Linked DNA regions of Homo sapiens: all the other regions are linked to region 2. Evidence: promoter capture Hi-C in human tissues and cell types (Jung and others, 2019). All regions are on one chromosome and are shown on one strand. Each heading gives the region's core, a stretch centred on a gene start or on the middle of the fragment in contact. The rest is flanking DNA. Distances are from core to core; before and after follow the strand shown.

Evidence for each region. Contacts are between HindIII fragments. The study calls those that stand out against the background at their distance.
Region 1: a contact is called between a fragment that was not itself captured here and the fragment with the promoter of ZNF845 in region 2, in 1 of the 25 tissues and cell types used here (pancreas).
Region 3: a contact is called between a fragment that was not itself captured here and the fragment with the promoter of ZNF845 in region 2, in 1 of the 25 tissues and cell types used here (hippocampus).

The regions. Positions count from the first base shown.
Region 1 is chr19:52,052,757-52,057,019 of GRCh38, reverse strand. No RefSeq gene overlaps it. Among named protein-coding and RNA genes, the nearest start is that of ZNF432, 6.0 kb to the right of the region's middle. The HindIII fragment of the contact is 8,170 bases long and covers 1-4,263 here.
Region 2 is chr19:53,332,499-53,336,895 of GRCh38, reverse strand. It overlaps ZNF845 (zinc finger protein 845), which reads right to left and starts at 3,147. Exons shown (of 4, transcript NM_138374.3): 1 at 3,104-3,147. RefSeq lists enhancers at 2,659-2,748, 3,019-3,068, 3,167-4,031 and a silencer at 3,139-3,358. The HindIII fragment of the contact is 26,552 bases long and covers 1-4,397 here.
Region 3 is chr19:52,275,714-52,279,736 of GRCh38, reverse strand. The region is part of intron 1 of ZNF766 (zinc finger protein 766); the gene reads right to left. It overlaps LOC124904763 (a long non-coding RNA gene), which reads left to right and starts at 2,110. Exons shown (of 4, transcript XR_007067331.1): 1 at 2,110-2,199; 2 at 2,282-2,423. The HindIII fragment of the contact is 7,011 bases long and covers 1-4,023 here.

The sequences.
Region 1 (4,263 bases), core at 537-3,036, 1.3 Mb after region 2:
GATGGTATCTCGTTGTTATTGGGGGAACCTGCCCCCAATATTTCAATGTAGTTTCTTTCTATTTTCCATAAGTGTCAGCCGGCTGAGAAATAAAGACAATACAAAGAGAGGAATTTTACAGCTGGGCCTCCAGGGGTGACATCACATATCGGTAGGACTGTGATGCCCGCCTGAGTCTCAGACCAGTAAGTTTTTTTTTTAAGGGTTTCAAAAGGGGAGGGGGTGTAAGAACAGAGAGTAGGTACAAAGATCACATGCTTCAAAGAGCAAAAAGCAGAACCACTGATAAGGGTCTAACAAAGATTACATCTTTCTGAGGGAAAAGGGCAAAGGGCAAAAGTAGAACCACTGATATGGGTCCAACAAAGATCACAGGGCAAAGGGCAAAAGCAGAACCACTGTTAACACAATTATCACAGTGGTCCTGAGGTGACGTACATCCTCAGCTTATGAAGATAACAGGATTAAGATATTACAGTAAAGACAGGCATAAGAAATTATAAAAGTATTATTTGAGAACTGATAAATGTCCATATTAAAGTGAAATCTTCACAATTTATGTTCCTTTGCCGCAGCTCCATCTGGTCTCTCTGTTTGGGGTCCCTGCCTTCCTGTAACACATTGTGGTTTTGATTTGCATTTCTCTGATGGCCAGTGATGATGAGCATTTTTTCATGTGTCTGTTGGCTGCATAAATGTCTTCTTTTGAGAAGGGTCTGTTCATATCCTTCACCCACTTTTTGATAGGGTTGTTTGATTTTTTCTTGTAAATTTGTTTAAGTTCTTTGTAGATTCTAGATATTAGCCCTTTGTCAGATGGGTAGGTTGTAAAAATTTTCTCCCATTCTGTAGGTTGCCTGTTCACTCTGATGGTAGTCTCTTTTACTGTGCAGAAGCTCTTTAGTTTAATTAGATCCCATTTGTCAATTTTGGCTTTTGTTGCCATTGCTTTTGGTGTTTTAGTCATGAAGTCCATGCCCATGCCTGTGGCCTGAATGGTATTGCCTAGGTTTTTTTCTAGGGTTTTTATGGTTTTAGGTCTAACATTTAAGTCTTTAATCCATCTTGAATTAATTTTTGTATAAGGTGTAAGGAAGGGATCCAGTTTCAGCTTTCTATATATGGCTAGCCAGTTTTCCCAGCACCATTTATTAAATAGGAAATCCTTTCCCCATTTCTTGTTTTTGTCATGTTTGTCAAAGATCAGATGGTTGTACATGTGTGGTACTATTTCTGGGGGCTCTGTTCTGTTCCATTGGTCTATATCTCTGTTTTGGTACCAGTATCGTGCTCTTTTGGTTACTGTAGCCTTGTAGTATAGTTTGAAGTCAGGTAGCGTGATGCCTCCAGCTTTGTTCTTTTGGCTTAGGATTGTCTTGGCAATATGGGCTCTTTTTTGGTTCCATATGAACTTTAAAGTAGTTTTTTCCAATTCTGTGAAGAAAGTCATTGGTAGCTTGATGGGGATGGTATTGAATCTATAAATTACTTTGGGCAGTATGGCCATTTTCACGATCTTGATTCTTCCTATCCATGAGCATGGAATGTTCTTCCATTTGTTTGTGTCCTCTTTTATTTCGTTGAGCAGTGGTTTGTAGTTCTCCTTGAAGAGGTCCTTCACATCCCTTATAAGTTGGATTCCTAGGTATTTTATTCTCTTTGTAACAATTATGAATGAGAGTTCACTCATGATTTGGCTGTTTGTCTGTTGTTGGTGTATAGGAATGCTTGTGATTTTTCACATTGATTTTGTATCCTGAGACATTGCTGAAGTTGCTTATCAGCTTAAGGAGATTTTGGGCTGAGACGATGGGATTTCTAAATATACAATCTTGTCATCTGCAAACAGGGACAATTTGACTTCCTCTTTTCCTAATTGAATACCCTTTATTTCTTTCTCCTGCTTGATTGTCCTGGCCAGAACTTCCAACACTATGTTGAATAGGAGTGGTGAGAGAGGGCATCCCTGTCTTGTGCCAGTTTTCAAAGGGAATGCTTCCAGTTTTTGCCCATTCAGTATGATATTGGCTGTGGGTTTGTCATAAGTAGCTCTTATTATTTTGAGATACATCCCATCAATACCTAGTTTATTGAGAGTTTTTAGCATGAAGTGCTGTTGAATTTTGTCGAATGCCTTTTTTGCATCTATTGAGATAATCATGTGGTTTTTGCCTTTTGTTCTGTTTATGTGATGGATTATGTTTATTGATTTGTGTATGTTGAACCAGCCTTGCATCCCAGGGATGACACCAACTTGATCTTGGTGGATAAGCTTTTTGATGTATTGCTGGATTTGATTTGCCAGTATTTTATTGAGGATTTTTGCATCGATGTTCATCAGGGATATTGGTTTAAAATTCTATTTTTATGTTGTGTCTCTGCCAGCCTTTGGTATCAGGATGATGCTGGCCTCATAAAATGAGTTAGGGAGGATTCCCTCTTTTTCTATTTATTGGAATAGTTTCAGAAGGAATGGTACCAGCTCTTCTTTGTACCTCTGGTAGAATTCAGCTGTAAATCTGTCTGGTCCTGGACTTTTTTTGGTTGGTAGGCTATTAATTATTGCCTCAATTTCAGAGCCTGTTATTGGTCTATTCAGGGATTCAACTTCTTCCTGGTTTAGTCTTGGGAGGGTGTATGTGTCCAGGAATTTATCCATTTCTTCTAGGTTTTCTAGTTTATTTGCGTAGAGGTGTTTATAGTATTCTCTGATGGTAGTTTGTATTTCTGGAGATCGGTGGTGATATCCCCTTTATCATTTTTTATTGTGTCTATTTGATTCTTCTCTCTTTTCTTCTTTATTAGTTTTGCTAGCAGTCTATCAATTTTGTTGATCTTTTCAAAAACCAGCTCCTGGATTCATTGATTTTTTGAAGTGTTTTTTATGTCTGTATCTCCGTCAGTTCTGCTCTGATCTTAGTTATTTCTTGCCTTCTGCTAGCTTTTGAATGTGTTTGCTCTTGCTTCTCCAGTTCTTTTAATTGTGATGTTAGGGTGTCAATTTTAGATCTTTTCTGCTTTCTCTTGTGGGCATTTAGTGCTATAAATTTCCCTCTATACACTGCTTTAACTGTGTCAAGAGATTCTGGTATGTTGTGTCTTTGTTCTCATTGGTTTCAAAGAACATCTTTATTTCTGCCTTCATTTCGTTATGTACCCAGTAGTCATTCAGGAGCAGGTTGTTCAGTTTCCATGTAGTTGAGCGGTTTTGAGTGAGTTTCTTAATCCTGAGCTCTAGTTTGATTGCACTGTGGTCTGAGAGACAGTTTGTTATAAGTTCTGTTCTTTTACATTTGCTGAGGAGTGCTTAACTTCCAACTATGTGGTCAATTTTGGAATAAGTGCAATGTGGTGCTAGGAAAAATGTATATTCTGTTGATTTGAGGTGGAGAGTTCGGTAGATGTCTATTAGGTCCACTTGGTGCAGAGCTGAGTTCAATTCCTGGATATCCTTGTTATCTTTCTGTCTCGTTGATCTGTCTAATGTTTACAGTGGCAAGTTAAAGTCTCCCATTATTATTGTGTGGGAGTCTAAGTCTCTTTATAGGTCTCTAAGGACTTGCTTTATGAATCTGGGTGCTCCAGTATTGGGTGCATATATATTTAGGATAGTTAGCTCTTCTTGTTGAATTGATCCCTTTACCATTATGTAATGGCCTTCTTTGTCTCTTTTGATCTTTGTTGGTTTAAAGTCTGTTTTCTCAGAGACTAGGATTGCAACCCCTGCTTTTTTTTGTTTTCCATTTGCTTGGTAGATCTTCCTCCATCCCTTTTTTTTTTTTTGAGCATATGTGTGTGTCTGCACGTGAGATGGGTCTCCTGAATACAGCACACTGATGGGTCCTGACTCTATCCAATTTGCCAGTCTGTGTCTTTTAATTGGAGCATTTAGCCCATTTACATTTAAGGTTAATATTGTTATGTGTGAATTTGATCCTGTCATTATGATGTTAGCTGGTTATTTTGCTCGTTAGTTGATGTGGTTTCTTCCTAGCATCTATGGTCTTTATAATTTGGCATGTTTTTGTGGTGGCTGGTACCGGTCGTTCCTTTCCATGTTTAGTGCTTCCTTCAGGAGCTCTTGTAAGGCAGGCCTGGTGGTGACAAAATCTCTCAGCATTTGCTTGTCTGTAAAGAATTTTATTTTTCCTTCATATAGGAAGCTTAGTTTGGCTGGATATGAAATTCTAGGATGAAAGTTCTTTTCTTTAAGAATGTTGAATATTGGCCCCCACTCTCTTCTGGCTTGTAGGGTTTCTGCTG
Region 2 (4,397 bases), core at 1,898-4,397:
GTTTCCAATAAATAATAAAGACTAGAAAGCATGCAGACCTCGATCTGAACTGGACGCAACTAATTTCAAACAGAAACTATTTGGAAATTGTTTTTTAAAAAATCGAACAAATTCAGATGTCAATGGGAAAATAACTGAACAATGTGAGCTGGTTATAGGATGCTGCAAATGCATCTTTCAGAAGTGATTATGTATTAAAAAAGAAATATTTAAAACTAAGATTTATCTCAAAGTAAAACTGCAAAAAAAAAAAAAAAAAAAAGAAAGAAAGAAAGGAAGGAAGAGGAACCAGAAAGAAAAAAAAGAAAATATGTTACACAACGAGAACAAAAGCACTTTTGATGTGCCTTTTGCTTTCATTTTTTGGTGGTGGTGTTTGTTTTTTTGAGATGAAGCCTCGCTCTGCCCCCCAGGCTGCAGTGCAGTGGTACCATTTCGGTTCACTGCAACCTCTACCTCCCAAGTTCATGTGATTCTCATGCCTCAGGCTCCCGAGCAGCTGGAACTACAGATGCATGCCACCATGCCCAGCTTACTTTTTTAGTATTTTTACTAGACACAGGGTTTCACCATGTTGGCCAGAATGATCTCAAACTACTGACCTTAGGTGATTGGCTCCCAAAGTGCTGGGATTACAGGCATGAGCCACCACGCCCAGCTTTGATGTTCCTTTTTTTTTTTTTTTTGAGATGGAGTCTCGCTCTCGCCCAGGATGGAATGCAGTGGCGCAATCTTGGCTCACTGCAACCTCCGCCTCCTGGGTTCAAGTGATTCTCCTGCCTCAGCCTCCTAAGTAGCTGGAATTAGAGGTGCATGCCACCATGCCCAACTAATTTTTGAATTTTTAGGAGCAATGGGATTTCACCATGTTGGTCACGCTGGTCTTGAATTCCTGACCTTGTGATCCTTGTGATCCACCTGCCTCCGCCTCCCAAAGTGCTGGGATTACAGGCATGAGCCACTACGCCCTGATGTCCCTTTTAAAAAGTACTATGGGCCAGGCGTGGTGGCTCATGCCTGTAATCCCAGCATTTGGGGGGCCAAGGCGGGTGGATCATCTGAGGTTGGGAGTTTGAGACCAGCCTGACCAACATGGAGAAACCCCGTCTCTACTAAAAACACAAAATTAGCTGGATGCAGTGGCTCATGCCTGTAATCCCAGCTACTTGGGAGGCTGAGGCAGTAGAATCAGTCTGAACCTGGGAAGCGGAAATTGCAGCGAGCCGAGATTGTGCCATTGCACTCCATCCTGGACAAGAGTGAGATTCCATCTCAAAAAAACAAAAACAAAAACAAAAACAAAAAACAAAAAACGACTATGTAGGCCAGGCACGGTGGCTCCTCTCTGTAATTCCACCTGTAATCCCAGTAATTTGGGAGGCCAAGGCAGGACGATCCTTTGAGGCCAGAATTGAGACCAGCCTGGGAAACAGTGAAACCCCATTTCTACAAAAAAAAAATACAAAACCTAGCCGGACTTGGTGGCTCACGCCTGTGGTCCCAGCTACTCAGGAGGCTGAGGTAAGAGGATCGCTTGAGCCTAGGAGGTCGAGGCTGCAGTTAGAGGAGATCACACCACTGCACCCCAGCCTGGGCGACAGAGCCAGACCCTGTCTCAAACTATAAATTAATTAATTAAATTAAAATTATTACATAATAACAGAAAGTGATTTTTTTCTCCCACTTCACTGCCCCATTTCCTACCTCACCATGGGAAGAGGGAAGAGAGGCTCTCACAATTGAATTAAGTCACTACCCTCTGGCTGAATAGGGATTCCAAGTGGAAGCTGACCTCTAATGCCAAGATTTACAGAATGTATGTGTCTTATAGATAGGAATTTTAAAATTCTCAATATCATCTGTATAATTTAAACAAGTTCTAAGTTATTAGATTATATAAACAGAAGTCAACATATCACAACTAATCATATCCAATGAACTCACCCACTCATCTGAACCCAAAGTCCCCCACCCCTTTTAATCTTTTGAGACAGGCTCTGCTCTGTTGACCAGGCTGGAGTGCAGTGGCATGATCTCTGCTCACTGCAGCCTGGACCTCCTGGGCTCAAGTGATCCTCCTGCCTCAGCCTCCAGAGCAGCTGGGATTACAGGTGTGCACCATCACGCCCAGTTAAATTTTTTTTTTTTTTGACAGAGATGGGGGGGGGGGTCTCACTATTTTGCCCAGGCCGGTCTTGAACTCCTGGACTCAAGCAATCCCTCTGCCCCAGTCTCCTAAAGTGCTAGGATTACAGGCGTGAGCCACTGCGCCCAGCCCCCCTTTCTTCATTACTGTGCTTCCCTCCCTAATTCTGTACATATCTCTCATTCTCCCCTTCTCTCTCTAGCTCTTGTTTTCTTTTTCCCTGGGATCTGCTCCTCCTGCTGTTTTTTGTTTTGTTTTGTTTTTTTCATTTTTGCTCTCTCTTGGCAAATCCCTCACTCATCCTCTACTTTGCCATCTGTTATGGTCTTTCTCATTCTTCTTTTCTCTGTCTCAGGTTTTCTACTGCTCTCTCTCTCAGTCTCCTGATCCCTTTGGCCAACACAATCACAGGAGGGCTTTGGAGTAAGACGCCTGCATCCCGGAGGAGCGCATTTTCCAGGGGCTGGTGCAGGGCAGGCAAGAACACCCGGTGTCATAGGACAGCCCCGGGCACCTCCCCAACGCGGGCTCAGGGTAAGCGGTGACTGCGGTGGGGAGACCTGGGGAGCATAAGGGCCTGGAACGAGGAGGGAGGTGGGGGGCGACGGCGCCTTAAGACAAGACTGGGAGGCGCCAAGGGCGGGAATCCGCCTCGCGGTAAGGACTTTAAAAAGTGCGGGTCGGGAGGAGTCAGAAAAAGGTTTTGAGCAGGGAAACTACGCGATGGGAAGTGTATACATTGCCCTATAGCAGAAAGATTCGGGAAGGGACCATCCTCAGGGCGACTTTAAACCCAAAAGGAAGCGACCCCTGGACTCTGACGAGGACGTCTAAATTTGCTCTAGGTGAAGGAACACGGGTGAGAATTTCCAGGTCTATGGGGACCCCACGTCCCAGGTACAGAAGCGCCGGGGACTTGGGAAGCGCAGACTTAACACAACACAGAGCAAAACTCACCGCTGCGGTGGGACCATCACTCCATGCGATCCGCTTCCGGGTTTGCGCGAATCTGCGCGCGCAGGACAGAAGCCAGGCCTGGGCGGGACCCGCGGGGAGGTAGGCGGGGCCTGAGCGAGGTAGGGGCGGGGCGCGAAGCGGAGAGACCTTCCCCTTTAGAATTGGCAGAAGGCGGGGCCGGGGTGGGACCCGTGCGTCTCTCAACCTCGCTCCCAGCGCCTCTTGTTTTCGAGCTTTGGAGGCGAGACCGGACAGGAAGGCTGAGGCATGATTCAAAAGCCCTGGAATTGTCTGAAACGGGGATGCAAACTAGAATGTGAAATGCAAAGCCCTGCCTGGGTGGAACATACGATTTCATGCTGACGGCCCACAGAACAGAATAGAAATCCTCTCCCTTTCTATTCTCCATTCACTGGGAAAGGAGAGTCCACCCTGTCCTCAGCTTCAGAGATTTCCCTAGGGCCTCCCCCTGGGATGCGGGACGGAGTGCTCAGGCCAGGGAGGAGTGAGGTCACCACCTACTGCTTAAACACAGCAGAGATGCGGGCGCGGGGCGAAAGCCTGAGGTCCCAGCTACTCAGGAAGCAGTGGCAGGAGGATCGCTGAGCCGGGGGGGGGGTCCAAGTTAGCCTGGGCGACAAAGTAACACCTCCTCCGGCAGCGCTCCCTTCCTCGTCTCTCTCTCTCTCCTTTTTTAAAATTTCTTTAAATAAAATTTTTGATTTTGTGAGTTAGGGATCCAACATTATTCATTTTCACGTGGATATCCAGTTAGTTGTCCCAGCACATTTGTGGAAGAGATCTATTACTTTCATTTTTATATTTAGATTTTTCTTTTCTTTTCTTTTCTTTTTTGAGACAGAGTATTTCTCTGTCACCCAGGCTGGAGTGCAGTGGCGAGATCTCGGCTCACTGCAACCTTCACCTCCCGGGTTAAAGTAGTTCTCTTGCCTCAGCCTGCCAACTAGCTGGGATTACAGACGCGCGCCACCAAGCCTGGCTAATAGTTTTGTATTTTTAGTAGAGACTGGGTTTCACAACGTTGGCCAGGCTGGATTCGAACTCCTGACGTCAAGTGATCCACCTGCTTCGGACTCCCAAAGTGTTGGGATTACAGGCGTTAGCCACCGCGTCTGGCCAGGAAAACTCTTAGAAGTTGCGCCTGCATACCACTGGACTCAGCTTGCATGACCACATTCCTTTCAAGGCTCAGAATTATTTAAAGATCCATACATTTACATTGGAATTATTTGATGTTTGAAATATTTAATTTCCTACCGAGATACGGGTACTG
Region 3 (4,023 bases), core at 1,431-3,930, 1.1 Mb after region 2:
TACCTATTTTCAAATATATAAATATAATATGTTTTAAAATTTATGTGAGGTCTTACTATGTTGCCCAGGGTGGTCTCAAACTCAAGAGATCCTACCATCTCAGCCTCCCAAGAAGCTCAAATTATAGGCTTATACTACTGCACTAACCCATTGCTTTGTCCATTAAAATTTATTCTCTAGTGAGAATTACAAACCACTGCTCAAAGAAATCAGAGAAGACACAAACAGAAAAACATCCCATGCTCACGGATAAGAAGAATCGATATAATTAAAATGACCATACTGCCCAAAGAATTTACAGATTGAAAGCTAATCCTAATGACGTTCTTTGCAGAACTAGAAAAAACTATTTTAAAATTCATATGCAATCAAAAAAGAGCCTAAATAGCCAAGGCAATCCTGAGCAAAAAGAACAAAGCTGGAGGCATCAAGTTATCCAACTTCAAACTATACCACAAGGCTACAGTAACCAAAACAACATGGTACTGGTACAAAAACAGGCACAAAGACCAATGGAACAGAATAGTCAGCCCAGAAATAAGGCCGTGCATCTACAACCAACTGATCTTTGACAAAGCTGACAAAAACAAGCAATGGGGAAAAGACTCCCTATTTCATAAACGGTGCTGGATAACCAGCTAGCCACATGCAGAAGATTGAAGCTGGACCCCTTCCTTATACCATATACAAAAATCAACTCAAGATGGATTAAAGACTTCAGTGTAAAACCCCAAACTATAAAAACCTTGGAAGACAACTTAGGCAATACCATCCTGGACACAGGAATGGGCAAAGATTTCATGACAAAGACACCAAAAGCAATCATAACAAAAACAACAATTGACAAGTGATATCCAATTAACTTTAAGAGCTTCTGCACAGCAAAAGAAACTATCAACGGAGTGAGCAGACAACCTACAGAATGGGAGAAAATTTTTGCGAACTATGCATCTAACAAAGGTCTAATATCCAGCATCTACAAGGAACTTAAGCAAATTTACAAGAGAAAACCCCATTAAAAAGTGGGCAAAGGGCCAGGTGCGGTGGCTCATGCCTATAATCCCAGCACTTTGGGAGGCTGAGGCAGTTGGATCACCTGACATCAGAAGTTCCGAGACCAGCCTGGCCACCATGGTGAAGCTCCGTCTCTACTGAAAATACAACAATTAGCTGAGTGTGCTGGCAGGGGCCTGTAGTCCCAGCTACTCGGGAGGCTGAGGCAGGAGAATTGCTTGAACCCGGGAGGCAGAGGTTGCAGTGAACTGAGATCACACCATTGCACTCCAGCCTGGGCGACAACAGCGAAATTCCATCTCAAACAAACAAACGAAAAAAGTGGGCAAGGGACATGAACAGACACCTCTCAAAAGTAGACATACATGTAGCCAACAAGCATATGGAAAAAAAGCTCAGTATCACTGATCATTAGAGAAATGCAAATCAAAACCACAATGAGATACCATCTCATTAGTCAGAATGGCTATTACTAAAAGTCAGAAAAGGCCTGGCGTGATGGCTCACGCCTGTAATCCCAACACTTTGGGAGGCTGAGGTGGGTGGAGATGGTGAAACCCCATCTCTACCAAAAATTCAAAAAATTGCCGGGCGTGGTGGTACACATTTGTGGTCCCAGCTACTCAAGAGGCTGAGGTGGGAGGACTGCTTGAGCCTGGGAGGTAGAGGTTGCAGTGAGCCAAGATTGCACCACTGTATGCCAGCCTGGACGACAGAGCAAGACTCTTGTCTCCAAAAAAAAAAAAAAAAGGCAGAAAAGATTTCCTGAATTTTTATTGCAGAATTTACCAGGTACTTGTGCACATTAATAGGTGATTTCTGTGGGCAGCTTCTCTAATCCTGGTCCACAGAGAGCTGACAGAGCATCCAGATGTGGCCCCTGAACAATCCCTGCTGCCCAACAGCACTGACACCACGGGGCCCTCACCCCGTCTCCACCCACGTCTGGGTGTGAGCCCTTCCCAGGATCACGCCCAGTGCAGCCTCTTCCCAAGTTCATGTCACTGGGTCACAAGAGATGGAATCTAAGCGAGATGAGAGGGACTGAAGGAAGGCATGGGTGAGTGTGAGCAAACCTGTCAGGCAGGATGCTTCAGACTCAGAGAAGATTCTCAACTCCAGCACCCGGCATTTCAGGAAGAAATAAGAAACAGAACAATCTACTGAGAATATCACTTTACCTGAGTAAGTGGCATGCCTGACTCCTCTGCTTTCCTCTTCTGGGCTTCTCCTTCACATAACATGACTTTTTTTGTTTTTTTTTGAGACGGAGTCTCACTCTGTCACCCAGGCTGGAGTGCCGTGGCCCGATCTCAGCTCACTGCAAGCTCCGCCTCCCGGGTTCACACCATTCTCCTGCCTCAGCCTCCTGAGTAGCTGGGACTACAGGTGCCCGCCAACACGCCCAGGTAATTTTTTGTATTCGTAGTAGAGACGGGGTTTCACCGTGTTAGCCAGGATGGTCTTGATCTCCTGACCTCGTGATCTGCCCGTCTCGGCCTCCCAAAGTGCCGGGATTACAGGTATGAGCCCCCGCGCCCGGCCAACATGACTCTTTAGAAGTCAATCCTGAATGTCAAAAATATGCTGTTTAGGGTTTAGAATCAACATACTTTCTTCCTGTGCCACAACCACACACGCAGGGAAGACCTCACCCTGTGGAAATACGGTCCTCTGCTGCCCACTGCATCAGAGTTGATGCCGGGACAATAAACTCCTACAGGAAGAACAAGTGAGCTTTTGGCCCCTTTCTTCAGAACCCGCTCCCCTCCTGGAGAAGCCCACACACACACTGCAGCAGTGGGGAGCTGGGCTGGACTAAGCTCCCCTTCAGGGCACAGACCTGGCTCTGACCAAACCCCATGCAGAGCACAGCACCCCCTCACCTCTTTGTGAATCAGAGGCTGAACTCAGCCTTCAGAAATGAGAACACGGCTTCGGTGCTCAATGCTGGATACAGAATACAGTAAAATCCCTTTATCCAAGGGGATACGTTGCAAAACCCTGAGTGAATGAAACTTGGAACAGTACTGAACCCTATTTACTCCACTTAAAGGATGCCTGTGACAGATTCTCACTGACATATCCAAATTGCCAACATCAATGCTCATGTGCTTGGGGGGCATGTTAAGTAAAATAAGGATCACTTAAACAAAACCAATGAGGTACCACAAAATTGGATCTGATCAAAAAGACTACTATTAAAAACAAAACAAAACAAAACAAAAAAGAAGACTATTAACAGATTGATGGGCAGACAGAGTATACAGTGCATGGGGTCTGTATCCATGGATTCAACCAATTACAGACTTAAATAATTTAAAAAAGACAAAAGGAAGCAATATACCAATATAAAATAGCAATACAATAAAAATAATACAAGAAAACAACCCAGTATAACAAGCATTTACATAGCATTTATATTTAATTAGGTATTACCAGTAATCAGATGTTTACAGTATATGGGAGGGTGCAGAGGATGTGCATAGGTTACATGCAAATGCAGTCACGCATCGCTTAATAACAGGGACATGTTCTGAGAAACGCATTTTCAGACCATTTCATTACAGAGGGAACTTACACAAACCAAGATAGCATAGCCTACTACACATCTGGTATATATAATACAGCCTACTGCTAAAAACCTGTAGGGCATGCTATGTCCTGAATACTATAGTCAACTGTAACAACGGTAAGTACTCGTAAGTCAAAACATATCTAAATATAGAAAAGGTACAGTAAGGCCAGGCACGGCGGCTCATGCCTCTAATCCCAACACTTTGGGAGACCAAGGCAGGTGGATCATCTGAGGTCAGGAGTTCGAGACCAGCCTGGCTAACATGGGGAAACCCCGTCTCTACTAAAAACACAAAAATTAGCTAGGCATGAAAGTGGGTGCCTGTAATCCCAGCTACTCGGGAGGCTGAGGCAGGAGAATCACTTGAACCCAGGAGGCGGAGGTTGCAGTGAGCCAGGATTACACCACTGCACTGCACTCCGGCCTGGGTG